Regions from separate parts of the Homo sapiens genome. Here all the other regions are linked to region 2. Evidence: promoter capture Hi-C in 16 types of primary human blood cells and fetal thymus (Javierre and others, 2016). All regions are on one chromosome and are shown on one strand. The core of a region is centred on a gene start or on the middle of the fragment in contact, and the rest is flanking DNA. Distances in the headings are between cores, read along the strand shown. Region 1 holds the start of ARHGEF17 (Rho guanine nucleotide exchange factor 17). Region 2 holds the start of ATG16L2 (autophagy related 16 like 2). Region 3 overlaps P2RY2 (purinergic receptor P2Y2). Region 4 overlaps P2RY2 (purinergic receptor P2Y2). Region 5 overlaps IUR1 (imatinib upregulated ABL suppressing lncRNA 1). Region 6 has its middle 42 kb from the start of CLPB. Region 7 has its middle 8.2 kb from the start of IUR1.

Region 1 (3,430 bases), core at 19-2,518, 490 kb after region 2:
CATACATTTTCATTCGTTCGTTCATTCGTTAGTTGGGCCGGGAGGATGAATGGGATCTAGAGGCAGGTGGGAATGCGGAAGGGGATGATGCCCCAATACCGAGAACAATGTGAGACTCAGACGGAGGCAGGGGCGGGAGGGGAGCTCAAGCGAGGGATCAGCGTGAAGCCAGAGAAACAACCGACACTTTTCCTGCCAAGAAGGTGAAGCAGCTGCGGGTAAGAGTATAGGTTTGGCAGTGGGAAGTCGAGGGCGTTCCCGTCGAAGCTCCTTTTGTGTATAAGGCCTAAGAAGGGGCAGTGCGCTTTGCGAAGGTCTGAAAAAGACTAAGGGGATTAGGTAACGACTGAAAGGAAGTTTTCACAACTCTCCGTTTTTGGGGGATGGGTGCTGCTTTATCCGTCCAGGACTCCGTGCGTTGGGAAAATCACGCCGCGAGGGGGCGCAAGAGCCGCGTACTCCAGAGCAAGAAGAAAAGGCTCGGGGATCCAGGCGGAGAGTCCAGGAGAAGAGCCGCCAGACTGCAGGGGCAGGTGGAAGGCGTGGCAGCTGGAAAAGTAGGGGTGGGGGCGCGGTCGTGAAGGGTGGGACTTCTGGAGCAACGCTGGGCGGGTTGGGGGCCGGTCGGAGCCGGACAGGCGGCTGGGAGGTGGGATGGGCGGGGCGCTTGGGAGCGAGATGGGGGGACAAGGGCGTGGCTACAGCTAAATTCGCCGCAGAGGGCGGGCGGGGAGGGGGAGGGAAGGGGAGGAGGCGTGGCCTGGGCGGGGAGTAGGGCGCGACGGACCCTTCAGTTAGCCCGCGGCTCCCCGGGCTCTCCCTGGCGCCGAGTCCCACCCCTTTCCCGGCCCAGAGAGTGTGCGTCTGCGTGCACCTGAGTGTCAGTGTGTACGAGAGTTTGTGAGTCCGAGGTTGCCATGTTGGAGCCCCTGGGCAGGAGGTGTTTCCGCGCGGAGGCTGGTGGCCCGCGGTGGACGCGGCGCCCTGGCTGCGAGTCTGCGGAGCTGAGCACGCTCAGCGGTTGTGTGTGTCTCAGCGACTCCCTGGGGGCAGCTCGGCCTGCTGGGCTCCCGAGGGACCTCTCTGGAGGGCCAGAGGGTCGCCTCAGTCTGCAAGTCCTCCAGCAGGCTTTTTCTTCTTCGGCTCCTCCCTGATTCCCTCCCACCACGCGGTTCCCAGGCTCGCGCACGCCCGGAGCCCACCCCCTCTTTTGGGCGCGAGGCCCCGCCCCCCGCCCCCTTGCCTCTGCCGCAAAGTTTATTTGCAACAAAAGGGTGCCAGGAGCGAGCAGCCAAGGGCGTTGGGCAGGCGGACGCAGAGTCGAGGAACCAAGCGCTGGGATCCCGCCCAGGCGGTGCCGCGGTGCCCCTGGTCGCTCCAGCCGCGGCGGGGGCTGGGCCTGGGGGTCGGCGCTGAGGCGGGAGGGGCCGCCCGGGATGGAGACGTTGCGGCCGGTGGCCACAGAAACTTGAGCCGCGGCAGAGAAACCTCTGCTCCGGTCTCTGCGTCCTCTTCCCACACTCCCGTGCGCTGCTTTCGGCGTGGGCCGCTGCGCTCCTAGGGAGTGGGGGCGCAGGGGGGGTTGGCCGCGGCTGCCCGAGGCCAGCCCCCCCGGAGTGAGTTACGCCACTATGGCGGACGGGGCACCCCGGCCCCAGCTTTACCGCAGCGTCTCGTTCAAGCTGCTGGAGCGCTGGAGCGGCGGCCCCGGGCTGAGGGAGGAGGACACGGACACCCCCGGCTTGAGGCGACGCGCCTCGTGCCGGCCGACCACGGCTGCCCGGGGCCAGCCCTCTCGGCGCGTGTCCAAGCTGGCGTCTGGGCCCCTGGCCGCCCCCGCGCAGCCGCGCCCGCTCCGCAGCCTCTCGCCGTCGGTTCGCCAGCTCTCCCGGCGCTTCGACGCGCCGCGTCTGGACGACGGCTCCGCTGGGACCCGAGACGGAGGCGTCTTACCCGCGGCCGCGGAAGAAGCGGCCGAGGGCCCAGCGCGAGGAGCCTGGCCCAGCGTCACCGAGATGCGCAAGCTCTTCGGCGGTCCTGGCTCCAGGAGGCCCAGCGCCGACTCTGAATCCCCAGGAACGCCCAGCCCCGACGGTGCCGCGTGGGAGCCTCCGGCTCGGGAGTCGCGGCAGCCACCGACGCCACCCCCTCGGACATGCTTCCCCCTGGCGGGTCTGCGTTCGGCGCGGCCCCTGACCGGGCCGGAGACCGAAGGGAGGCTGCGCCGGCCGCAGCAGCAACAGGAGCGGGCGCAGCGTCCAGCGGATGGTTTACATTCTTGGCATATCTTCTCCCAACCGCAGGCCGGGGCCCGGGCCTCCTGCTCCTCCTCCTCCATCGCCGCCTCCTATCCTGTCAGCCGCAGTCGTGCTGCCAGCTCCAGCGAGGAGGAAGAGGAGGGCCCGCCGCAGCTGCCTGGAGCCCAGAGTCCGGCCTACCACGGCGGCCACTCCTCGGGCAGTGACGACGACCGAGACGGTGAGGGCGGCCACCGCTGGGGAGGGAGGCCCGGGCTCAGGCCTGGAAGCTCCCTATTGGATCAGGACTGCAGGCCTGACAGTGATGGGTTAAATCTAAGCAGCATGAACTCAGCAGGGGTTTCTGGGAGCCCTGAGCCCCCAACATCTCCAAGAGCCCCTAGAGAAGAAGGACTCCGGGAGTGGGGTAGTGGCTCTCCGCCCTGCGTCCCAGGTCCCCAGGAGGGACTTCGGCCTATGTCTGACTCTGTGGGAGGAGCTTTCCGTGTGGCCAAGGTGAGCTTTCCCTCGTACCTGGCCAGCCCCGCAGGCTCCCGCGGTAGCAGCCGTTATTCCAGCACGGAGACCCTCAAGGACGACGACCTATGGTCTAGTAGGGGTTCTGGGGGCTGGGGCGTGTACCGCTCCCCTAGCTTTGGAGCTGGGGAAGGGCTCCTGCGGTCCCAGGCTCGAACCCGTGCCAAAGGACCTGGAGGCACCTCTAGGGCATTGAGGGATGGAGGATTTGAGCCTGAAAAGAGTCGACAGCGGAAGTCCCTGTCAAATCCAGATATCGCCTCAGAGACCCTGACGCTTCTCAGTTTCCTGCGCTCAGACCTTTCAGAGCTGAGGGTCCGAAAACCTGGTGGGAGCTCCGGGGACCGTGGAAGCAACCCCCTAGATGGCAGAGACTCACCATCCGCAGGTGGCCCTGTGGGGCAACTTGAACCCATACCCATCCCAGCCCCAGCATCACCTGGCACGCGCCCCACACTCAAGGACTTGACAGCCACTCTGCGGAGAGCAAAGTCATTCACCTGCTCTGAGAAGCCCATGGCCCGCCGCCTGCCCCGCACCAGTGCTCTGAAGTCCAGCTCCTCCGAGCTCCTGCTCACAGGCCCTGGTGCCGAGGAGGATCCGCTGCCCCTCATCGTCCAGGACCAATATGTGCAGGAGGCCCGCCAGGTTTTTGA
Region 2 (3,243 bases), core at 150-2,649:
GTGTCTGAGAAGCTTGAACTCAGTGTAGGGGCAGGAAAGTTCTCCTGGAGGAGGTGATGCATGATTAGGAGCCAGGCCCCCTAGAGGCGACGATGTTCCAAACATCAGGCTCGGCCTGTGCAAAGGCCATGGGCGTCTAAGACAATGACATGTGGGGGACTGAGCCCAGCTCACTGGAAGCAGAGCAGGCTACACTGACCTGGGGGCGTCTAGGCCTTCACTGCTTTCTACGTCCTCTGACCCATCCCCATCAGAATCTCAACAGACTCGTCACCTCCAGGGCCTGCACTGCTCTCCCATCGTTGCCCAACTTCTCTCGTTCCCTAGGGATGTTCAAGTCTGCCAACACTCAGAGGGCAGGGCCTGCTGGCATGCCCCAGGGTGAGGCTGTGCCCAGCGAGTCCCTCCTTTCGTGTCTCACAGTAGCCTGAGCCTGCAGAGCTGGCTCTCTAGCATCTAGCTAGAGACGGTTTGACCACAGTTCCCTGCGACCCATGATTCACTTTCGAGGGTACCCACAAGAGATGTGTCTGCTCCTCCAGACGCCGCCCAATGGGGTGAAGCGTCTGGCCCTGAGTCAGGATGCTGGGGTGCTGGCCGTCTCAGCTACCCACTCCTTTGCAACCCCAGGCAAGCAAGCTCGTTCTCTCCTCCCGGCCAGGGGCTTTCTAGATGAAATCAGCTGCACCCCTTTACTCTCAGGGACCTAAAATTTCGGCGACCATGTGGAGCCGTAAACCCTTCTGCCTCCTGTCCTCCCAGCCCCGCACCCACCTGGCGTTTTCGTGTCACGGAACCTCTGCACGTGCTCTTCTCGAGGCCTAGAGTCCCTCTCTCCCTCTGGCCAACTCCTATTTCATCCCTCACAGACCCAACTCGAACGCCATCATCCCCGGAAAGCGGGGATTCCTCCCTTCAGTCTCTGCTTCCTTATCTTGCTGTCCTGCTGCGCCGCGCCCTCAGTGTACGCGCAGAGCCCGGGGCTGAGGGCCTCTGGGTCCCTGGCTGGGTGCGCGGCCAGGAGCGCGACGGCCTGGGAAGCACCAGCGGCTCTCGAACTCGGCCCGGGCGCGGCGGGGTTAAGACACCCGGGCCTTGAGGGCCCCGCCTCCGGAGCGCTCCACCCGCGTGGGGGAAGCCTCCCCGGAGGCTCCGACCTCGCTCCTGCTTATGACCCTCGCAGCCACAGGAGCCCCCACTTAGGTGAACATTTCGGACGGGGCCCCGGCGGTTCAGACCCGGAGGCGGCTCCTCCCGGAGGCAGATCCTCCCGGCGTCGGCCTTCGGTCCTCCCCGCCAAAGCCCTCTTGGGACAAGCCGGGGATTCCCCGCCGCCGCCCGCCCCCTGGCGTCACGGAGTCCCCGCGAGGCCCCGCCCCGGCCTGGCGCCGTCCTGGGCGGGAGGAACGCGCCGCTAGGCGGGAGAGCGCGGCCATGGCGGGGCCGGGCGTCCCCGGTGCCCCCGCAGCGCGCTGGAAACGCCACATCGTGCGGCAGCTGCGGCTTCGGGACCGTACGCAAAAGGCGCTTTTCCTGGAGCTGGTGCCGGCCTGTGAGTGCGCCCCGGTGCTGAGAGGATGGCGGCTGAGGGGACGCGGCTACGGGCGCGGGGAGAGGGTTTGGCTGGCTCCTCCGCCTGTGACCCGAGTGCGCTGTGCCTTATGCCTTGAGCCTGTGCGTTACGCCCATCCCGACTGCCAGGACTCCGCCCCTTGCCATCCAGGCTCTGGTTAGAACCTGGACGAGCCCCTCCTGGTCCCCCTGCCCTCGTCGCCCCTCAGGACGGGCTCTGCCTCCCACAAGCTGGGCTTCCGAGACGCAAGTGCGTCCTCGGGTGTTGGTTTTGCAGGGTCTCTTTTGCCTCCCCACCCGGGCAGTCCCCGGGGTAGGGGCTTGATCAGTGCACTTAGTCTCGGTAGCGCAGTGAAAGAACGCGGGACTTGTCCAGAGCAGCCACTTATTGGCCCATCCGGAGAGGGGCGACACTCGGAACCTCTAAGGAGGAGGCTGTGCATCTCAGGCTCTGCCGCTGACAGGCGACGCTGGCACAGGCTTATGGAACACCTCCCTGTCAGCCTACCCAGCCTGAGGGGGCATCAGGGGGCCCCGGGCTGCTGGTGGATGCTGGCTGAGCCCAGCGAAGTCGGACTCTCAGAATTGTTTCTGGGCAGCTGGTCAGGATAGGGTGTGGCATTTCAAGAGGGGATGAACAGGTGTGCCTGTGTGTCGCACCTCTGGCCGCCTGCGATTGTATGTCTGTGGTTGGAAGTCTAACCACAATCCCTGCGGCTCTCTCACTGGGGCTAATCTTGGCCAAACCCCCACAATCAAATCTGCTCTTAGCCAGGAAAATTTCTCTGCAAGCTTCCAGGCTGCTGGTCCTCTACCTTCAGGGTTGCGAGGCCAGCCCCCACCTCCAGCAGCCACACTTCTCCACTGCTCAGACAGACAGTGGAACCGTCCAGTTTGAGGGAGGGGGTCACCGCCCCCCCAACCCCTGCCCCCCGCCCCGACCCAGGGAGCTGTGAGTCTGAGGGACTAGAGAGATCTGGAGGGCTGAAATCAGACTGAAGGGCCAGTCTTGAAACCTTGGGCAGATCACATCGCTAAGCCTCAGTCTTCTTACTTGTTAATTGGGTATAGAGACCTTCTTTAGGTTTGCTGGGTGCTGCAGTACCCTGGGGGCTGAGGTGGGGTTTTCATGAGAACTAGGCCAGGCCCAGGGCCTCAGTCAAGGTGACAGGGCACTGAGTGTGGGAAGGAAGTTGATGAGGAGGGAGCTAGGCCCGGACTTACCACCCCACCCTCCCCTGGAACTGGTGAGAAAAGAGGAAGTGACTGTTGATGGGGGAGGGTGTTCCAGGGTCAAACCACCAACCTCCAGAATGTCGGCTGGATAATTGCTCAAGGACTTTCTATTCTGGCCTGGGGGTACCTTACACCAGGGCTGGGGAAGTTGGGATTATTTATTTATTTATTTATTTGAGATGGAGTCTTTGCTCTGTTGCCCAGGCTGGAGTGCAGTGGTGTGATCTCCGCTCACTGCAAGCTCTGCCTCCCAAGTTCACGCCTGTCTCCCGTCTCAGCCTCCCGAGTAGCTGGGACTACAGGCGCCTGCCACCACGCCTGGCTAATTTTTTGTATTTTTTAGTAGAGATGGGGGTTTCACCGTGTTAGCCAGGATGGTCTCGATCTCCTGACCTCGTGATCCGCCCGCCTCGGCCTCCCAGAGCGCTGGGAATT
Region 3 (3,422 bases), core at 903-3,402, 430 kb after region 2:
GGGATCTGCCTGCCCTCAAAATATCTCCTATTACCCTCCAATATTCCCTGCCCCCTTCACACCTCCCTAACCTGACATCACTTCCTGGGCTGTTGACTCATGAAGGCCACTGTGAAAGGGCACGTGAGTTGCCCATCCACTGAGCAGACCCCAGGGATTATCCAGCCCAGCTGCAGACTCAAGGCCAGAGATGGGCAGGGCTGAGCCCAAGGTCATTCAGCAGGTCAGCGTGGCGCCTGGATGTAAGCAAGTGCCTTGGTGACGATCCTGCTGTCACTCACACTGCCCAGCTCTTCCTGCCCAGGGTGACTGGGATGGAGCCATAGACCTGAGGCCAGGGACAGGACAGGGATGGGAGGAAAGGGAGGGTAGAGAGTTGAGTGTCAGGGAGTAAATGTCTGCTGATGTGCCTGCAGCAGCTGTTCTCAATGAACTGCATGACATCAGGGCAGGGTCCCTGGCACACAGGGGTCTCTGCCCTGGGTGGCAGGTGTCCCAGGGTCCAGGAGGGATGGAGGAACCCCAGGGTACATTCCCACTTTCACCCCCTGAGGTTAGAAGAGGCCCTAAGCAACATGTTATCCACACATGGTTGCTCCAGGTCAAGTCACCAAAGCTACCTCTCTGTCACCCTTGTCATGGCAGATTTGGGCTGCTCTGTTTAGAATCAGGCACATGAGGGAGGGAAGTCGTGTATTGACCCATGTCCCACGCACCCTCTCATCTATGTTATATGGTGGATGCTTCACAGAAGCCCTGGGAAGTAGATGCTATGATCCTATTTAGCAGATGAGGAAACAGGAGAAGGGCGTGAGAAGTGAGGACTTGTTCCAGGTTATCCAGGCTGTCAGGGTGAGTCAGAGTGAGTCCAGGTTCACCTGATGGCCAGAATCATGCCCTTTATAGTGCCCCACGACACTCACAGCCCTGCAGGGCAGAAGGGTCTATAAGTGGCCCCTCGCATGATTCAAGATGACAGAGGCAGTGTAGCAAGGATGTGAGAACACAGATGCTCCACCCAGACCACCTCAGTGTCAATATTGTCCCCACTTTCCTGGCTGGGGTCTCTTGGGCAAGTTACCTAATCTTGCAGCACCTCAGTTTTCCCATTTCTAAAGTGTGCTGCTACCTTCCATGCAGGGCGTTGAGGGGCTTCCCTACGTTATTACGCACAAAGTCCTCCTCACAGTGCCTGGTGTGTGGTCAGCATTTATATGCCTGGCACCAGGCCGGGGGCTATGGAGGCAAATCAGCTGGGCCCTGCCCTCACAGAGTTGACATCACTTAGTACGTAACCACATTGGGATACATGTTTTGAAGGAGAGGACAGTGTGTCTGGCCAGTGAGCAACAGTGGGCCATACGTCTCCAGGGAACCCCCGTGGGGTGTGGGAGGAGGGAAGCAGGTCTGTCCTGGGGGAATGTGTGGGACCACCTCTGCCCTGCTTGGCAGTAGGTGGATTTCAGGACCATGGGCCTGTGCTGTTTACAGAACCTTGTCCAGGTGCCCAGCTGTGGGAGGGCAGCATGGAGAGGAGGAAGAGGGGGCCCCTAGTAGCAAGCTTCAGAAACTTGCCACTTCAGGCTAGAGAGCTCGCACCCTCCCACGGCAGCAGGGTAGCCATTTCTCCCTGACTGGGGTGTCCACCATGGTGCTCTGCAGCCACCTCTCACTTCATTAAGAGTCCACAGATCTAGGAGCAGAGGACTGGTCTGGAGCTGGGCAAGGGCAGGCAGCAAATGGGGAGTTTTTGCTGTGTGACCTGAGGTCACTTGCCTGCCTTCTCTGGACTGCACTGTAGGGCCTGGAGACCTGTTCCCCTGTTCCAATTTCCCCACCTCAGTGAAGGCACAACCAACAGCTGCTCCCCGGGCATTTCCAAGACCCTCCAGGCCCCCAGCTCTGAGGACTAGGGTGGAGGCAGTGTTTCTCCCCAGCATCAAGTGACCAGAGAAGTGAAGTGACCCCACTGCCGCCACACAGAGCCACACAGTGCGATGTCTGGAGCTCCTGCCTCCTGCAAGGTGGAGGGTGGGGCTTGGCCAGGAGTGACCAGACTACAGAGTGAGGGGTGTGCTTGTGGGGGTGAAGGGTTGGGGTGAGAACTGAGCCCGAGTCGAACTCATCCTCCTCTGCCCTGATGCACTGTGCAACTTGGGGGAGTCACTGTCCCTCTCTGGGCCTCGCTTTCCCCATCTTCGATAGGACTTGGCTCTGCCTGGCCACTCCTCCTCCAATGGGGGAATTCCTGGGCTTGCCTCTGTCTTGGCTCCAGCTCAGGTGTCAGTCTCAGCCCTGTCCCAGCCAGGAACAATGGGCCAGGCAGGGCCAGTCACCCCCTGTCCCTGGGGGCTCCACCCACGGCCCTGGACTATTTTCAGCCCTTGCAGATGGAGTCAGAAGAGGATTTTCCACTCCCAGTACAATGACTGCCCTGGACCATTGTCCAGCAGTGACGCGGGGGACCTGCCTGCCCCAAAATATCTCCTGCCCCTAGTTTCCAAGCCTCTTTGCCCTGCTCCTCACCTCCTGGCCCTGCTCCTTACCTCCCCACCCTGATGTCATTTCCTGGGGCTCTTAACTCCTGAAGGCCATTGTGAAACATCACGTGAGACTCCTGGGAGACACAACCAGTTGGAATGAGTTTTCCCTCCTGGCAGGGACCCCAGGGATTGTTTGGCTGCTTAGTGGGACTGGTGGCCCAGAGAGGGCTGTGCCTTACCCAGTCACACAGCAGTCAGTGTGAAGCTTAGGTGTAAGCCCAGGGCTCTTTGGCTGCTCCCACTGCCTCAGCCAACTTCATTAGCTCCAGTCTGTGGCTCCTGGACTGGAGCTACAGTGGTGAGAGCTCACCACTGAGCTTCCTGGGATGGGCACCTGGGATAGCAGCCCAAGTGGTGTGGGTGGAGAGGTGCAGCTCATGCTCTGACCTTGGAGTGAGCCCAGTGCAGGGGCCTGACCTTAAACCCTTTCTCCCCACTGAGTCCCATTTTTACCAAATGTGGCTGTTAGGAACTGAATGTTTGTGTCCCCCGCCCCACAAATCCATATGTCAAAATCCCAACTGCCAAGGTGATGGTATTAGAAGGTGGGGCCTTTGGGAAGTAACCAGGTCCTAAGGGTGCAGCCCTCATGAATGGGTTTAGTGCCCTTACAGAATGGACCCCAGAGAGCTCCTCACCCTCTTTCCACCATGTGAGGATATAATGAGAAGTTGGCAGTCTGCAACCTGGAAGAGGTCCCTCACCAGATCCCAACCATGCTGGCACCCCGATCTTAGACTTCCAGTCTTCAGAATGGTGAGAAATAAATGTCTCTTGTTTCTAATCCACCCAGTCGGTGGCATTTTGTTATAGCAGCCCACGCTGACTGTGACTGAACTCAGGGTGACAGAGCAGCAGCTCTGGGGCAAAGGGGAGGGT
Region 4 (3,427 bases), core at 311-2,810, 410 kb after region 2:
AGCAGCAGTGGCGCCCATCCCCTGTCTCTGGCACCAGCTTCTCCAGTAAAGGCCCGGCTGCAGGGGAGCTCCATGTCACTACAAAGAAGGGCAAACCAGAATCTGGTTATCAAAGTGGGTGGCACAGTTTGCCAGAACAGTGTGATCTGGGACACTGTAGGACCTAGAGTGCCCAGGCTAAAGACCTAGAGATTTTATCCTGAAGGCAATAGGGAGCCATGGAAATTTATGAGCAGAGGTGTTTCATGGTCAGAGCGGCATTTCAGAAAGCGCTCTCTGGCTGCAGGATGGAGAATGGATCAAGTATTGCCAAGTGCAGGGAGGTCAGGGCATTTGTGATGTCAACACTAGAACTGTCCCAGGAGTTGTTTGAACCCTAATTGAGCCCTTGCCCCTTGGCCAAACACTTTTCCCTGAGCCTTCAGATGCTCCTGCTGAGGAATTTGGGGACCTGCAATTGATCTCATCCCAGCTCTGTTCCCAGCTGGTTGAATGACCAGTTCCTGCCCTGCCAGGCTCTAAAAGGAGGCCAGAACAAGTAAGATCCTGCATGGGAGAGTATGTGTGTGGGGAGGCTCTGGCACAAAAGGCTTGTCGCTCTTTCTCCTCTTCTCCCTGCCTTGGGCTGTCTTGGAGTCTGGTCAGAGGGGTTGGGGATCCCAGTGGGCAACCCTCAGAAATGACTACCAAGCTTGGGCTGTGGAGTGAGGCTGTGACTCCTCTGTTTCTGTCTCCCTCCTGCCCTGGATGCATGGGGCTCTAAGGCTGTGGATCCCCCAAGGACCAGCTAAGAAGGTGTGAGGGTATCACCAGGGCCTCATGAGTGACCCCATGAGAGCTTTGACTTAATGGCTATAGTCTTTAGAGAGGCCATTGTCCCTCTCTAGGTGTCAGTTCTGCCATTTGTAAATTGAGAATGGTGATCCTTGCTTCTTTGAGAGCAGAGTTGCTACGAGGATTAAGATAGTGACCAGGGAAGAGCTTTATAAGCCTTAAACTGCAGTGCTCAGAGGAGGAATGTGACACTTGTAGACTTAAATCCATTTTGAAGACTATAAGAGAACATGGGTGCAATAGCAAGGGATTGTGCTTGTTATTGAAATTTGATTACTGAATGCCTTCCTCCCCCACCCCCTCTGCAGAGATGGCTTCACTAGTAACGATTTACAACAATCCATTTTGTCTTCCTATAGCCCTGTGAGGGAGGAATTGTATCTCCATTTTGCAGATCAGGAAATAGAGGCATGGATTGTATCCTGCCCAGGGTCACCAAGCTGAGGTGAAACCTGGGGCTCCAGTCCACCTGCCAGCTTAGCCCTCCCCATCTGAGACAGAGCCCTGTTAGGGTTAGGCCTGGTCCTCTGGCTTCCAGGCTGAGGGGAGTTTGAATTCTGCCCTGGGAACCTGTGTTTGGGGCTTTCTTGTGGCCAGATTACCCAACTGCTGATAAGGTAACGCCTGCCCAGACCTGCCCACGGGACCAGAGATGCCTTGTTGATCTGGTGAGGGGAGTGGGGGTTGCCCCTCATGCCTTCCACCCAAACCGCCTCTCCCCAAACTGCTTTCTGTAGGCCTGCTTGCTATACCCTCTGGGCCACACCTCCTCTTGGTTGTCCTTGGGTCCTGAGGCCTGGCCTTCCCTTATTACTGGGCCCTGATAGGAGGAGGCTGGCTGTGTGGGCCACTCTGACCTCTGTACTCATCCAGCGGCCAGTTGCAGGACTAGGCTAGGCCATACCTGCTTTCTCTCTCTGTCCCCATCAGCCACCACAGGTTGGGCTCAGAGCAGCTGCCAGTGGGTCTTTGGGAAATGAGTGGCCAGGCGGGAGTAGGCATGGAGTAGAAGGGGAGGCTTTGCTCCACGGAGTGCCATAGTTGGTTCTGGAGCAGAGGAGTTCCTCCACCCCATCACCCCATCTCCTAGGCCTGAGTCTTTCCTGGTCCAAGATGAGTAGCGGGAGTTTCTGGTAGGAGGGTGAGCAGCCTGGGCCCCGTGGAACAACTCCTTGACCCTCTGCCCTGGTACCTTGTCACTGTCATTGTAGCTCCTGAATGAGAGGCCTGGGTGCTGGAGTGAGGGAAAGGGACCTCCCTCAGACTTCTGGGGCTTTATGTGGCCTCTCCCTCCCCAGGTCTGAGGAGAGCCTCTGGGTGTCGACCTGGCTTCCTGGTGAGTGCCCAGCCACCCAGCCCTGGCTTGTAGGAGGGGGACTCTTGCCATGGCTGGGCTGTTGCAGGAAATCCAGGGCCAAGGGACCTGCTCCTCTCATGGCACCACCGTATGTGTCGTCTCCTCCTTGGTCTCCCTCCCTCCAGACTCCCTGTCCCATCTACCTTCCATGTGGCACCATCTTTGTAAAGGTTGACTCTGACCATGTCCTTCCCCTCTTAAGCCTTCCATGGCTCCTCAGTGTCCTTAGAATAGAGGCCAAGCTTTTCAGCCTGGCATTTGAGCCTTTTCAAGTGAATTCCTCAGGCTCCCACACATTCCATGCCACCTCACCCTCCACAGTAGCCGTATAAGACCTCCCAGCCTTTTTCCAGCAGGTCACACTTTCATCCACCAAGTCTTTGCTCATGCCTCTCCTGCCTTCAGAGCCCTCCTCCCTCTTTGCCCACCTGACAAACTCCTAATCATCTACCAGTTTCCAGCTCAGATGACCCCTCCTCTGCAGAAGCACTCCCTGACCACCTCCCCCAGGCCAGGTAGGAGTTGCTGTGTGCTCCATAACCCCTGGGCTTGCCTTGGTTATGGTTTATTCACCCAAGTGGATTTGGTCCATGTCTGTGTCTTTTTCCTCAGCCTGACTGGGTACTCCTCAAGGGCCCAGCAGAGTGCAATCTGAGTCTGAGTTCACAAGGTCCATCTGAGGCCAGGTGCACCAGAGCATTGGCAAGTGTTTGCTGGGACTTTGTGGTTCCTGGGAATGTGATTTAAGATTTCATTACTCTGAATCCAGACCCCTGTGGCTCTGAGAATCTCAAAACCAAAGGCTATCAGGAGCAACGAGTAATAGAATTGAAGAAACACAGCCTTCACACCCGGAACCAGAGCCTCTTGGAATTAGACTGCGAGAACCAGGGAACTCAGAATCCTGGAGGTACCTGGAGGGGCCATCTCAGAATCAGAGGCTCATGTGGTTCCTGGTTGATGCTTTCATCCCCCTTTCCACCTTGGATTCTCCATCCACCTTCTTTCCTCCCAAGCTGGACCCTTCCTGCTCCTCCTCAAATCTTATCACAGTTCCCCTTCCAGGGACCTTGCCTGACTGCTCTGACCATGACCTCTGTCCCTCTGCTGGGGAACACCTGGGAGGGCCTCCCTACCAAGCAGTGTCATGGGCTCCTGAATTTCAGTGTCTCCCTGTTGTGACAGGCAGACACAGCCTCCACATTAGGACAGTTCATGATTTGCTAGCGCCAAGGT
Region 5 (3,356 bases), core at 179-2,678, 350 kb after region 2:
GCCTCAGAGCAGCTAAGCTATGGACTTGCTGGAGATTTCAGAGCTGGTTCAACCCAAAAAGCTTGGGGCCCAAACTGGAAGACAGGGATTAAGTTGGGCCAGCCATTCATTCCTCTGAGGAATTTGAACCTGAGATCTGAGGAGGAAGCTAAGCTGTTGGAAACAGGAGATGAGGCAGGAAGACTCAGAAAAGAGGGAGTGGGTAGCTGCCTGAGTCAGTGCAGGCTATGAGAAAGCAGAAGCTGAGCTAGGGCAAGGGACAGGAGGGATCCACTGCATCTGTAGGGTTGTGGGAGCAAGTGACAGCAAAAAATGACCAATTTAAGCAGAAAAATAATGTGTTAAAAGGACTCTGGGTAATTTGCATAAACTGATCTCCAGTTAAGGGGTGATTTAGCAGTGTGGTATATATTTGGTTCTGAAGAATTATAACACACGACAGGAAAAAAATATGTTTCAGAAAATGTAGGTAATTCTGTAAAGTGATGAATATGTTAATTAGCTTGATTGTGGTAAGCATTTCACAATGTATACCTATGTAAAAATATCACATTGTACACCTTGATTATATATACATTTTATTTCTCAATTATACCTCAGTAAAGCTGGAAAAAATATGACTTCAAATTAATATTTTTCCTTCTGGGTACATAATTTAAAAAATTATTTGATATTATAATTATAAATACATACAATATACAAAATTTTACAATATAAAATTATATATTTTATATTGTATATTTATAATTTTTATGTTGTATATTTTATAATTTTTACAATATAAAAATCATTTTATATTGTAATTTGACATCTATGTAATGTACAATGATTTAAAAATCAAGTCATTTTTCTCATATATAACAAAAATTCAGATCTGAAATTATATAATGATACTACCATAATCACAAGAAAATTTACAATTTCCTCCATGCCTTCTAAGGAAAATATACCTAGGTAGGTTGCAGGTTTTTGGTTTGCTGAGAACGAAGTCTTGTTCAGGGTCAGGGTGATGGCCTTTCCTATGCTAGATCACAGCCTTATATATCACGGGTAAGGAAGAGAACCCCAGAGCTAATTGTGCTATAAAAAAAGTAGTGTGGGGAGAGGGCAGGAAAGGTGGAGGTGGGGTTCACTGGTGAGGAGAGGAGCCTGGGGTTGCTTGAGAGGAGAGAGAGTTGCTGTGGACTGTTTGATGTAAAACACTACTCCATCTCTAGACAGGAATCTACAATACAATAACCATTCCTCACTAAGGCCTTGAGGTAAAGATTTACTTTGGGGCAATTCTAAGAGAAATGTTGAGTCTTGCTCTTTGGCGAGGGGTATAAATGGAGGCACACACCTAGGCTGCATTTTAGGATCCTGCCCAAGGGTTTTTTGTTTTTTTTTGTTTTTTTTTTTGAGACAGAGTCTCACTCTGTCACCCAGGCTGGAGTGCAATGGTGCAATCTTGGCTCACTGCAACCTCTGCCTCTGGGGTTCTAGCCATCCTGGTGCTTCAGCCTCCCAAGTATCTGGGATTACAGGCGTGTGCCACCATGCCCAGCTATTTTTTGTATTTTTAGTAGGGACGGGGTTTCACCATGTTGGCCAGGCTGGTCTCGAACTCCTGACCTCAAATGATCCACCTGCCTCAGTCTCCCAAAGTGCTGGGATTATGGGATTATAGGTGTGACCCACCGTGCCCAGCTCCTGCCCAGGTTTTTTGATGGGCCATTCAATTCTCAGCTGAAACTGGGTATTAATCATTACCCTATGTAAAGAACCAAAGGTGAGCCTCCCTCTCCATCACTGCCAAATTACCAGGGCAGGCGATCCAGCTGAAACAGAGATGGTGTTGGAATGTTTCCCCAAAGCCAGGGGGAAGTTATATCTTTGAGGTCAGCATTCTGACCTAAGAATGAATTTTTCAGAAGGTATATTAATCAGGATTCTTTGGGCTGCAAATCATGGAAATTCATCTCTAGTGTGTTAAGGAAATAAAATAAAGCCCAACCATAAAAGGGGAGTTTGGAATTATTGGCTCACATAAATATGAAAACCAGGAGTATGGCTAGCTTCAGGAATGGCTAGATCCAGGCACACAAGTCAAGTCACCAGGAATCTATCTCCATCTCACCACTCTTTCTTCCTCTGTGTTGGCTTCCCTCTCAAGTTACTCTCCCCATGTAGTAGAAAAGTGACTTCCAAGAGTTGCATCTTGACATCATCAGCCCTGCTAGAAAATGTTGACCTTCCCAGTAGTTCTGGGGAAAGTACCAGTCTCATGTAGCTAACTGGATTATTTCCCCAACTCTGGAGTTGGGAATGTGGGGTCCGCCACATAGGAATTCCTTGAACTGAGAGTAGAGATGGGAAAGTCTCTCAAAGGAAATCAAGGTGCTGATAGCAGAAATGAGAGTGGCAAGACAGCAGTCAGTGAAAAATGAGGCCATGTACCCTGTGCAGTGAGCTCAGGGACTGATGTCAAAAAAACCCCAAACTTCCTTATGTGACCCAGGCTGGAAACTGATATTTAATCCAGCCTTGAAGGACACGTGATTTATTAAGAAACCAGTGTCTCCAGGAAGGGGTGAGGTGGACTGAGGCAGATACCCTGGGCTGATTTGGGTCCCCACTCCCTCTCCTTTTGGCCTTAGCTATGGAGACAGGATTTCCTGGAGCTGGACCTGCTGCTGCAGGGCTGGCTACCAGACAAGCACTGAAACCCTAGGTCAAGGCCACATGCTACCAAAACAGAGAGACGTTTGCAGGAATGCAGCCACAGGGATAAAAAGAGGATGCTGAATTGTGATTAAAGCTTCCTGCTGTAATATTACAGGATGGTGGTAGGAGAGAGGGAGAGAAGTGGGAAAAATTAAGAGATTTTAGGTTCTGACAGCAAGAATCAAACACGGATTCAGAGCCACAGATCAATCCCTCAATTCCTGCACAAGAATGACCCGTGCCACTTAAGGAATATGCAGTGAGAAGGGGAGGCCAAGATTCACAGGACGACAGGAAGGAGAAAAGCGCGCCCAATATGCACTAAGATTGAAGAGATGTGTGCTATAAGCCATAAGATGTGCTTGACCACAGCATGGAAAATCTGGTCCTGCTAGAAGAGATATCCGTGGATGTAATTTATAGGGAAACCTCACTGAAAAAAAGCAGAATTCCCTGGAAACTGGATTTCCTATGCTGGATATCTTCCATTCCCTACCCTTTCCCACCCTGCTCTTTACAGGAAGATAACCACTACAGCCTTAATTAACAACAATCTGTGCTTCTGGCTTCAGGTTGGGTTTGGCCAATGGAGAGGCCCAGCTGGAGATGAGAGGAAGGGAGGAGAGGGAGGTCAGGGTATTTATTCCCGC
Region 6 (3,540 bases), core at 837-3,336, 340 kb before region 2:
AACCTGGTCTTCTGGTCGGAACAAGGGCTTATGGAGGTCATGTGATACATGGATTCTTGGCCTCAGTCCATCACTGGACAGTGGGTCCAATGAATCTAGTTATTTCCCTTGTTCCTGCATATATAGTTAAAATAGACATACTTAGTCATTGACTGAACCCCTTCCATTGGCTGCATGATTCACCATTGTTTAGTGTCTCTCCTTCACCCACTCCTATGGCCTCTGTGGCTTCATGACATGGATGACCTGGAGAAGAGATACGTAGATGGGCCTCTTGGAATGGGCATAGAGTATGAAGGCAATCATGTCCCACAAAAATACCCAACAGAGGTCATCCACTGCAGATGAGTCACTCAGTGATCAGGTGGACAAGATGACTGGATGTGCAGATGTCAGTTGGCCTCCTTCCCCAGCCCCTCCAGTTGTTGCTCAATGGACCAGGTACAAAGTGTCAAGATGGAAGAGATGGAAGCTGCACACAAGCTTAACAACATCTATATCCTCTCACCAAAGCTTATTTGGCTACCACCACTAGTGAGTGCCCAGCTGCCAACTGCAGAAGCCAAGGATGAGTCCCCAGTATGGCACCATTCCCCAGAGAAACTAGCCAGGAATCTCTGGTGGTAACTGATTTAATAGGAACCCTTCCTTCATTGAGGACAGAAAGTGCTCTCATGGGAATAGATATGTTTCCAGAGTTTTTTTCCTTGTTCCTAATGCTTCTACCAGAACCATGTCATTTTTTTTTTTTTTTTTTGAGACAGGGTTTTGCTCTATCACCCAGGCTAGAGTGAAATGTTGTAATCATAGCTCACTGTAGCTTCCAATATGAGCCCTCCTGGCCTCAAGATATTCTCCCACCTTAGCCTCCAGAGTAGCGGGGACTACAGGCACATGCCACAATGCCTGGCTAACTTTTTAAATTTTTTATAGAGACAGGATCTTGCTGTGTTGCCCAGGCTGGTTCAAACTCCTTTCTTTTCATGGTTAGTGGTCAGAATGAGTAGAGACTAGCATTGAAGCTGGAAAAGCTGGAAAGCACGTGTGGATTGCCTCAAGCAATCCTCCTGCCTAGGCCTCTCACAGCCGTGGGATTACAGGCAGGAGCCACTGTACCCAGCCAAGAATGTCATCTTTACCAACATGGTATCCCATACATCTGACCAAGAGGCTAATTTTATAGTGGAAGAGGTGTGGCAACAGGCTCATACCATGAGATTTATGTTAACCTTAGGATATATGTTATCACCCAGAAACAGCTGGCTTGAGAGAATCACCTATGAAGGTCATGGTTACTGAGAGAATGACCTGCTGAAGGTCAGTTATGGTGCCAGCAGAAATACAGCACCCTAACAAATGGAAGAGCAGTACATTCTTTACATCAGCAACCAATATATGACATTATTTTCTCTACAGCAGGGACACACAAGCATAGAAAGGAGGAGGGTGGAGTAAGAGAGGCCCCTCTCATGAATGCATCTAATAATCCAGTTAAAGAATATTTGCTTCTTGTCCCCACTGTCTTATTCCTTGCAGGTTTAGAAGCCTTAGTTGCTAAGGGAGAAAATGCTTCCAATAGGGAACATAGTTGCAGACTCGTTAAGTTGGAAGCTAAGACTGCTCAGTTGCCATTTTGTTTTCCTCATGCCGCTGAGCCAATAGGCAGAGATGTGGGTTACTCTATCGGCTGGGATAACTAATTCTAATTATTAAGGGGAAAGTGAATTACTGGATGTTTTAGAACAACATAATTCCTAGAAACATTAAGGAGAAACTCTAATTTTTAGTCATCTTCAGTATATCAATTATTTTATTTTAAACTTTTTTTTGTGTGTGTGGAGACTGCGTCTTGCCATCTTGCCCAGGCTGGTCTCAAACTCCTGGCCTCAAGCTATCCTCCTGCTTCAGCCTCCCAAAGTGCTAAAATTACAGGCATGGACCACCATACCTGGCCCAGTTATTTTATTTTAAGTATGACTTGACAATCTAGGGACATGTGGTTTAACATGAAATGTGAGAAGTTGGAATTCTTTTCTAACCTTTGGTCTGGGGAAGGACCTTGAAAGGTTAGTCTAGCCTAGGGATAAAAGCAGAAAACTCAACCTTTTTATGGGTTACATGGGAAAGGTATCAGGGGAGTGGACAGGCTCAGTTTATGATCACTCTCTGAAATGACGAAGACTTCTCAAATAAAAGAAGTTCAAAAATGGAGTCACAGCTGGGCTTGGTGGCTCACGCCTCTAATTCCAATAACTGAAGAGGCTGAAGGAGGGCGGGTTGCTTGAGGCCCGGAGATTGAGGCCAGTTTGGGCAACATAGCAAAACCCCACCTCGCTTAAATCTCTCTTAAAAAAAAATTCCAGCCACTTAGCCAGGCTTGATGGTGCGTGCCTGTAGTTCCAGCTACTCAGAAGTCTGAGGTGGGAGGATTGCTTGAGCCCAGGAGTTCAAGGCTACCGTGAACCATGATCGGACCACTGCACTCCAGTCTGGGTGACAGAGCAAGACCCCGACTCTAAAAATAACAAAATAAAAATTTAAAAATGGAGTCAGATCAAGGAGAACTCAAAGACAGCAAAGAGGCTTACTACAGATACTCACTCTTATCCTGCTGGCCCTGTCGACCATTCTCAGGTTCTGCCGTGCTCCAGATTCTGGCAGAATTAGGTCAGACGGCGGTGGAATATAGGACTGCAGACTTAAAGATGATAATAACATTCCATCGTTTAATAAAAATAGCTCCATGCTGGAAGAAATGGAAAACACGCACCATTGAGAAATTTTCTGTTGGAACTTACCTAAGATGGAAGGTGTCCAGGATGCAGACGTAAATGCAAGTCTGGAGTTCTGGACCCTACACTGGTGGTTGATGGTCGTTAGCACAGAAATAAGGCAACAACAATGAAGTTAGTGCTCAGGCCTCACTTTCACGGTCTTATGTGAAGTCTTTGTTCAACTACTAGATGACATCAATTTTAGACATGACAGATCACCTTTTGACTCCAATTTGGTGGCTAATAGTACAGGTAATATTTACTACCTCTGGACCCTCATCCTACTGACAGCTACTCCTTCATATTTTATAAAACAAGAAGACCCTGGAGTGGAGCTATGATGAGGGTCTGTTAGAGATGGTGGATTATAAATAAGAATCACAATTTTTCAGCCAGGCACGGTGGCTCACACCTGTAATCCCAGCACTTTGAGAGGCTGAAGTGGGTGGATCCTTTGAGCTCCGGATTTAAGACCAGCCTGGGCAACATGGCAAAACCCGTTGCTACCAAAAATACAAAAATTAGCTGGGCGTGGTGGCACGCCTGTGGTCTCAGCTACATGGGACACTGAGGCAGGAGGATTGATTGAGCCCGGGAGGTTGAGGCTGCAGTGAGCTGAGATCACACCACTGCACTCCAGCCTGGGCAACAGAGCAAGACCCTGTCTCAAATTAAAAAAACAAAAAAGAGAGAGAGAAACTGAAAGCAAACAAAAAATTTAAAACTGAATGTGAAAGGGCAGAGGGGAAACAAACAAACCAAACCA
Region 7 (3,544 bases), core at 248-2,747, 380 kb after region 2:
CTGCTCACAGACTAGCTGGGGGTACAGAGGAGGAGAAAAGGGCCGGAAAGCGTGCTGGGAACTCTGGAGTCTGCAGTGCCCACAGGGCCGCCACTCGGCTGGGGCCTAGGTTCTCTCCCATGAGAACCTAGAGGTTGAGCAGCTACCACAGTCTTCGCCCCAGCCTGCCCCCAGCCAGTAATGTTGCAGAAGAAAAGAGGAACAGATCTTGAAGCTGACGTGGGCGAAAGGGAAGGGAAATGCAAGCAGGGGCCACGGAGGGAAGCTATGGGTCTCCTTCCCCCACCTGCAGCCTTTGCTGCCTCTGTTACTACCTTCTGTCTTTCCAAATCCTCCCCTCATCTCCAGCTCCTGCTTCCTCCCTGACCCTAGGGGGCTAAATAAGATGGGACACTGAGCACCCTGTGGGGAGGTGAGCTGTCTGGTGGGCTTTGTTTAATTTTCCAGAGCCCCCTCTCTACATATAACCAAGGAACTTTCTAAAGACAGGGCTGGGCTTCAGTCCTCCAGGGGCAGCCCTGTGAACTGGGCTCAGAAAACCTCAGATTTGAACCCTCAACCCCATATCTGTCTGTGTTACCCTGAGCCAGGTGGGCCTCCCTCTGAATCCAGGTGCCTCATCCTCACACTGGCCCCATGAGGCCTTTGCAAGCTTCTGCCTGGTTCCTGGTTCTCATGGTGCCCCGGCCTTGTGTGTGAATGAGTGTGTGTGTGCACACTGGACTTTGCTGCACATGGTAGCCCACAATCAATATTGAATAGCCCACCTCAAATCCTTTTTGAAAGGCTGAGTACCTGAATAAATAGATAAATGTTGACTGAGTCTAAAAACACACATGCAGCCTGAGAAAAGCCTTGTTTATCCAGCCTCCCTAAATAAGGAGTCAATTCCCAGAGCGGACTCTCCAGATGATTCAGGATGGAGGAACCTAAAGATGTGGAAGAATAGAGGCCTCCTAGGTGGAGGGAACATCGTGAGCCACAGCTGAGAGCTGGAGGATACTTGGCTGCAAGTCGAACAGCCACATGAGATGAGCTGATAAGGCTGGCAGGGTCCAGAGCCTGGAGGGCCTCGAATGCCAGGCCAAGGAGCCAGACCTTATCCAGAGGGCAGTGGGAACCATGGAAGGGTTTTGAGCAGGGGAGTGACAAGGCTGGGTGTGTGGCCAGCAGGGTCCCTCTCTGGTTGCTGCATGAAGCATGGACTGAAGGCAGACAGCAGTGTCAAAGGGCCCTCTGCTTTTGAGGTTCAGGAGGAAAAGATGAAGGATGAAGTTGGGCAGTTCAGCGGAAGGTGAGAGGTGGACAGTCCCCAGGATAGCACAGAGGGGTGGCCAGGATTTAGTTAAGGATGGGAGGAGGGCAGGCAGAAAATGAGAGGAGGCTTGGTGGCTTCTGGGTTCCTGGCCCAGGTGACCGGCTGGTTGGTGATGCTCTTGCTGAGGTTGTGACAGGAAGAGCAGGTCTGGGGAAAGATAAAGAGTTCATCAGCTTTGGACATGTCAGGGGAGCAGGCGTCCCAAAGGAGGATTGATTAGAGGGCTGGAGCCAGGTAAATGTGGACAGATTTTCCCTGAATGACATTTTACTGGATGACTTTAAAGTATCCCAAGTATCCTGGGGACAGTCTTTGGCACCAACTGCCTATGGTCCCCAAGACAGATAGGACCAGGACTTGGGTCCCAGAGAAGGGTCAGCAAAGGGTCTGACTAGGGTGAAGGGGAGGGTCTAAGATCCTTGGCTCAGGAGTACCCCCAGGGTAATGCAGGAGTGGCTGGCACAGAGGTTTAGAGGTAGATAAGGGGTAGGAAAAAGCCATGGGTGGGCTGAGCTGGCAAGCCTCAGAGACCAGTCAGCCCAGAACCATCATTGTACAGACAGACAGAGCCAGGCCCGGCAAGGCCTAGGGATCTGGCAGGTCACAAGTCAAGGCAGACAGGTCATCAGCTTCTGGCTCAGTGCTGTACCCTCAGCCCGACTGGCTGGGAGGGGTCAGCTCCGTGTGGGCCTGGGATTGAGCTCCTGGGCCACGTCTAGGTGCTGTGGGCTTGTGTGGTTCGGGTGGAAGCACTGGGGCAGGCAGATGAGAGCCCCACCCTGAGCAGCACCCTAAACCCACTGTCTGTCAGTCTGCCCCAACCCTGTGCTTTTACTTTCTCAGTCCCAGGACCCAGGCTGGGCTGTAATCAGAGGAGGGAACTGGAACCTGGACCGGGGGAACACAAAGCTCTGCACACAGCCAGTCTCCTGGCAGATGCTGAGATGCTCATGGGTGGGTGGGGGACTGTGGCATCAGGGGCCATGTTCCACACAAGGTGAAATGCAGTAAGGGCAATTTCCACAAAGCTTGTTGAGCCAGGTACTGTTTTATGATCTTGAAACAGTGAACAGGATTTATGTTCTAACTAGACATTGACAATAAGCAAACTAATACATAACATAACAATGGAAAGATGAGAGGAAGAAACAGAGCCCAGAGGGATGGGCACCTTCAGTGGGGAGCGGGGAATGGCCACTTGACAGAAGACCCCTGCAGGCCTGATGGGCTGAGTGATTTTAATTAAATCTATGTCCCTACCCCCGACCCATGTACCCCCACCCCGCCTGCCACCAGGCACTCCACCTTCTCCTCAGCTCTAGCTGCACCACTGGGAGTTCCTATTTTTTTTTTTTTTTTTTTTTTTTTTGAGACAGAGTCTCACTCTGTCACCCAGGCTAAAGTGCAGTGGTGCGAACTTGGCTCACTGCAACCTCCACCTCCCGAGTTCAAGCAATTCTCCTGCCTCAGCCTCCCAAGTAGCTGGGATTACAGGCTCCCGTCACCACACCCAGATAACTTTTGTATTTTTAGTAGAGACGGGGTTTCACCATGTTGGCCAGGCTCGTCTTGAACTCCTGACCCCAAGTGATCTGCCCGCTTCTGCCTCCCAAGGTGCTGGGATTACAGGTGTGAGCCACTGCACCCAGCCGCACCATTGGGAGTTTCTGAGGGCTGCCCTTGACTGGACCATTACCAGGGCCTGAGGAGGACTGTGGGGAAATGAGCCTCTCACAAGGTCTAGTCCCTCCCACAAAGTCCTGCCCAAGAGCCACCCCAACCTGCCCACTTGGCTCCTCCAACCTGGGAGCCAGGTAAGAGCTGAGGAGCCCCAGGGCCTTGGCACTGAGTCAGATGTAGCCTGGGAGGTGGAGGTGACTCACTTGGGGGTGTCAAGATCCAGGAAACCACAGCCCAGGGTCAGGGCAGAAACCTGGAGACTCCCTGCCTTGCCTTGCCCCAGAATGATGAATAGGAGGGCCCTGGCCTTTCCTAAGAAGCCCCCAGCCAAGGGTCCTCCTGCTGTCATGAAGGCCCAAGTTCCAGTCAAGTTGTTGAGAGGTGCCCAAGGACCTGCCAGTGCCTGCTTCCTCTGGGCCTCGGCCTCCTAGTCCACTTATAGTGGGGAGCAATGGGGCTAGATAAGCTTCAGTGTTCCTAGCAGCTCTGAATTTCTGTTTCGTTGAGTATGTTGCAGGAGGCCCACAACCTCTGATGGTTCCTGGG

The links. Contacts are between HindIII fragments. The CHiCAGO score rates a contact against its expected background, and 5 or more counts as called.
Region 1: a contact is called between the fragment with the promoter of ARHGEF17 here and the fragment with the promoter of ATG16L2 in region 2, in 3 of 17 cell types (endothelial precursors, neutrophils and megakaryocytes). The highest score is 9.0, in endothelial precursors.
Region 3: a contact is called between a fragment that was not itself captured here and the fragment with the promoter of ATG16L2 in region 2, in 6 of 17 cell types (endothelial precursors, megakaryocytes, M0 macrophages and 3 more). The highest score is 13.1, in endothelial precursors.
Region 4: a fragment that was not itself captured here is called in contact with the fragment with the promoter of ATG16L2 in region 2 in 6 of 17 cell types (endothelial precursors, M1 macrophages, erythroblasts and 3 more); the score reaches 8.4 in endothelial precursors.
Region 5: a contact is called between a fragment that was not itself captured here and the fragment with the promoter of ATG16L2 in region 2, in 10 of 17 cell types (M2 macrophages, megakaryocytes, M1 macrophages and 7 more). The highest score is 8.8, in M2 macrophages.
Region 6: a contact is called between a fragment that was not itself captured here and the fragment with the promoter of ATG16L2 in region 2, in 1 of 17 cell types (M0 macrophages). The highest score is 6.0, in M0 macrophages.
Region 7: a fragment that was not itself captured here is called in contact with the fragment with the promoter of ATG16L2 in region 2 in 9 of 17 cell types (endothelial precursors, M0 macrophages, megakaryocytes and 6 more); the score reaches 10.2 in endothelial precursors.

The regions. Positions count from the first base shown.
Region 1 is chr11:73,307,008-73,310,437 of GRCh38, forward strand. It overlaps ARHGEF17 (Rho guanine nucleotide exchange factor 17), which reads left to right and starts at 1,269. Exons shown (of 21, transcript NM_014786.4): 1 at 1,269-3,430. The coding sequence starts at 1,632. ARHGEF17-AS1 (ARHGEF17 antisense RNA 1) reads right to left here and starts at 2,354. Exons shown (of 3, transcript NR_147696.1): 1 at 1,665-2,354; 2 at 875-1,557; 3 at 504-549. RefSeq lists silencers at 641-780, 1,181-1,510, 1,741-1,960 and enhancers at 1,381-2,258, 2,264-3,084. The HindIII fragment of the contact is 10,810 bases long and covers 1-3,430 here.
Region 2 is chr11:72,813,012-72,816,254 of GRCh38, forward strand. It overlaps ATG16L2 (autophagy related 16 like 2), which reads left to right and starts at 1,400. Exons shown (of 18, transcript NM_033388.2): 1 at 1,400-1,552. The coding sequence starts at 1,435. LOC107984421 (a long non-coding RNA gene) reads right to left here and starts at 1,056. Exons shown (of 3, transcript XR_007062771.1): 1 at 1-1,056. RefSeq lists enhancers at 1-12, 2,023-2,172 and silencers at 553-642, 1,043-1,492. The HindIII fragment of the contact is 2,352 bases long and covers 11-2,362 here.
Region 3 is chr11:73,237,893-73,241,314 of GRCh38, forward strand. It overlaps P2RY2 (purinergic receptor P2Y2), which reads left to right. Exons shown (of 3, transcript NM_002564.4): 3 at 1-3,422. Among named protein-coding and RNA genes, the nearest start is that of P2RY2, 21 kb to the left of the region's middle. RefSeq lists enhancers at 1-246, 2,430-3,180. The HindIII fragment of the contact is 1,187 bases long and covers 1,560-2,746 here.
Region 4 is chr11:73,220,082-73,223,508 of GRCh38, forward strand. The region is part of intron 1 of P2RY2 (purinergic receptor P2Y2); the gene reads left to right. Among named protein-coding and RNA genes, the nearest start is that of P2RY2, 3.5 kb to the left of the region's middle. The HindIII fragment of the contact is 1,742 bases long and covers 690-2,431 here.
Region 5 is chr11:73,165,080-73,168,435 of GRCh38, forward strand. The region is part of intron 1 of IUR1 (imatinib upregulated ABL suppressing lncRNA 1); the gene reads right to left. Among named protein-coding and RNA genes, the nearest start is that of IUR1, 16 kb to the right of the region's middle. The HindIII fragment of the contact is 2,739 bases long and covers 60-2,798 here.
Region 6 is chr11:72,475,213-72,478,752 of GRCh38, forward strand. It overlaps the pseudogene ART2BP. Among named protein-coding and RNA genes, the nearest start is that of CLPB, 42 kb to the left of the region's middle. The HindIII fragment of the contact is 3,151 bases long and covers 512-3,540 here.
Region 7 is chr11:73,189,320-73,192,863 of GRCh38, forward strand. No RefSeq gene overlaps it. Among named protein-coding and RNA genes, the nearest start is that of IUR1, 8.2 kb to the left of the region's middle. The HindIII fragment of the contact is 1,694 bases long and covers 651-2,344 here.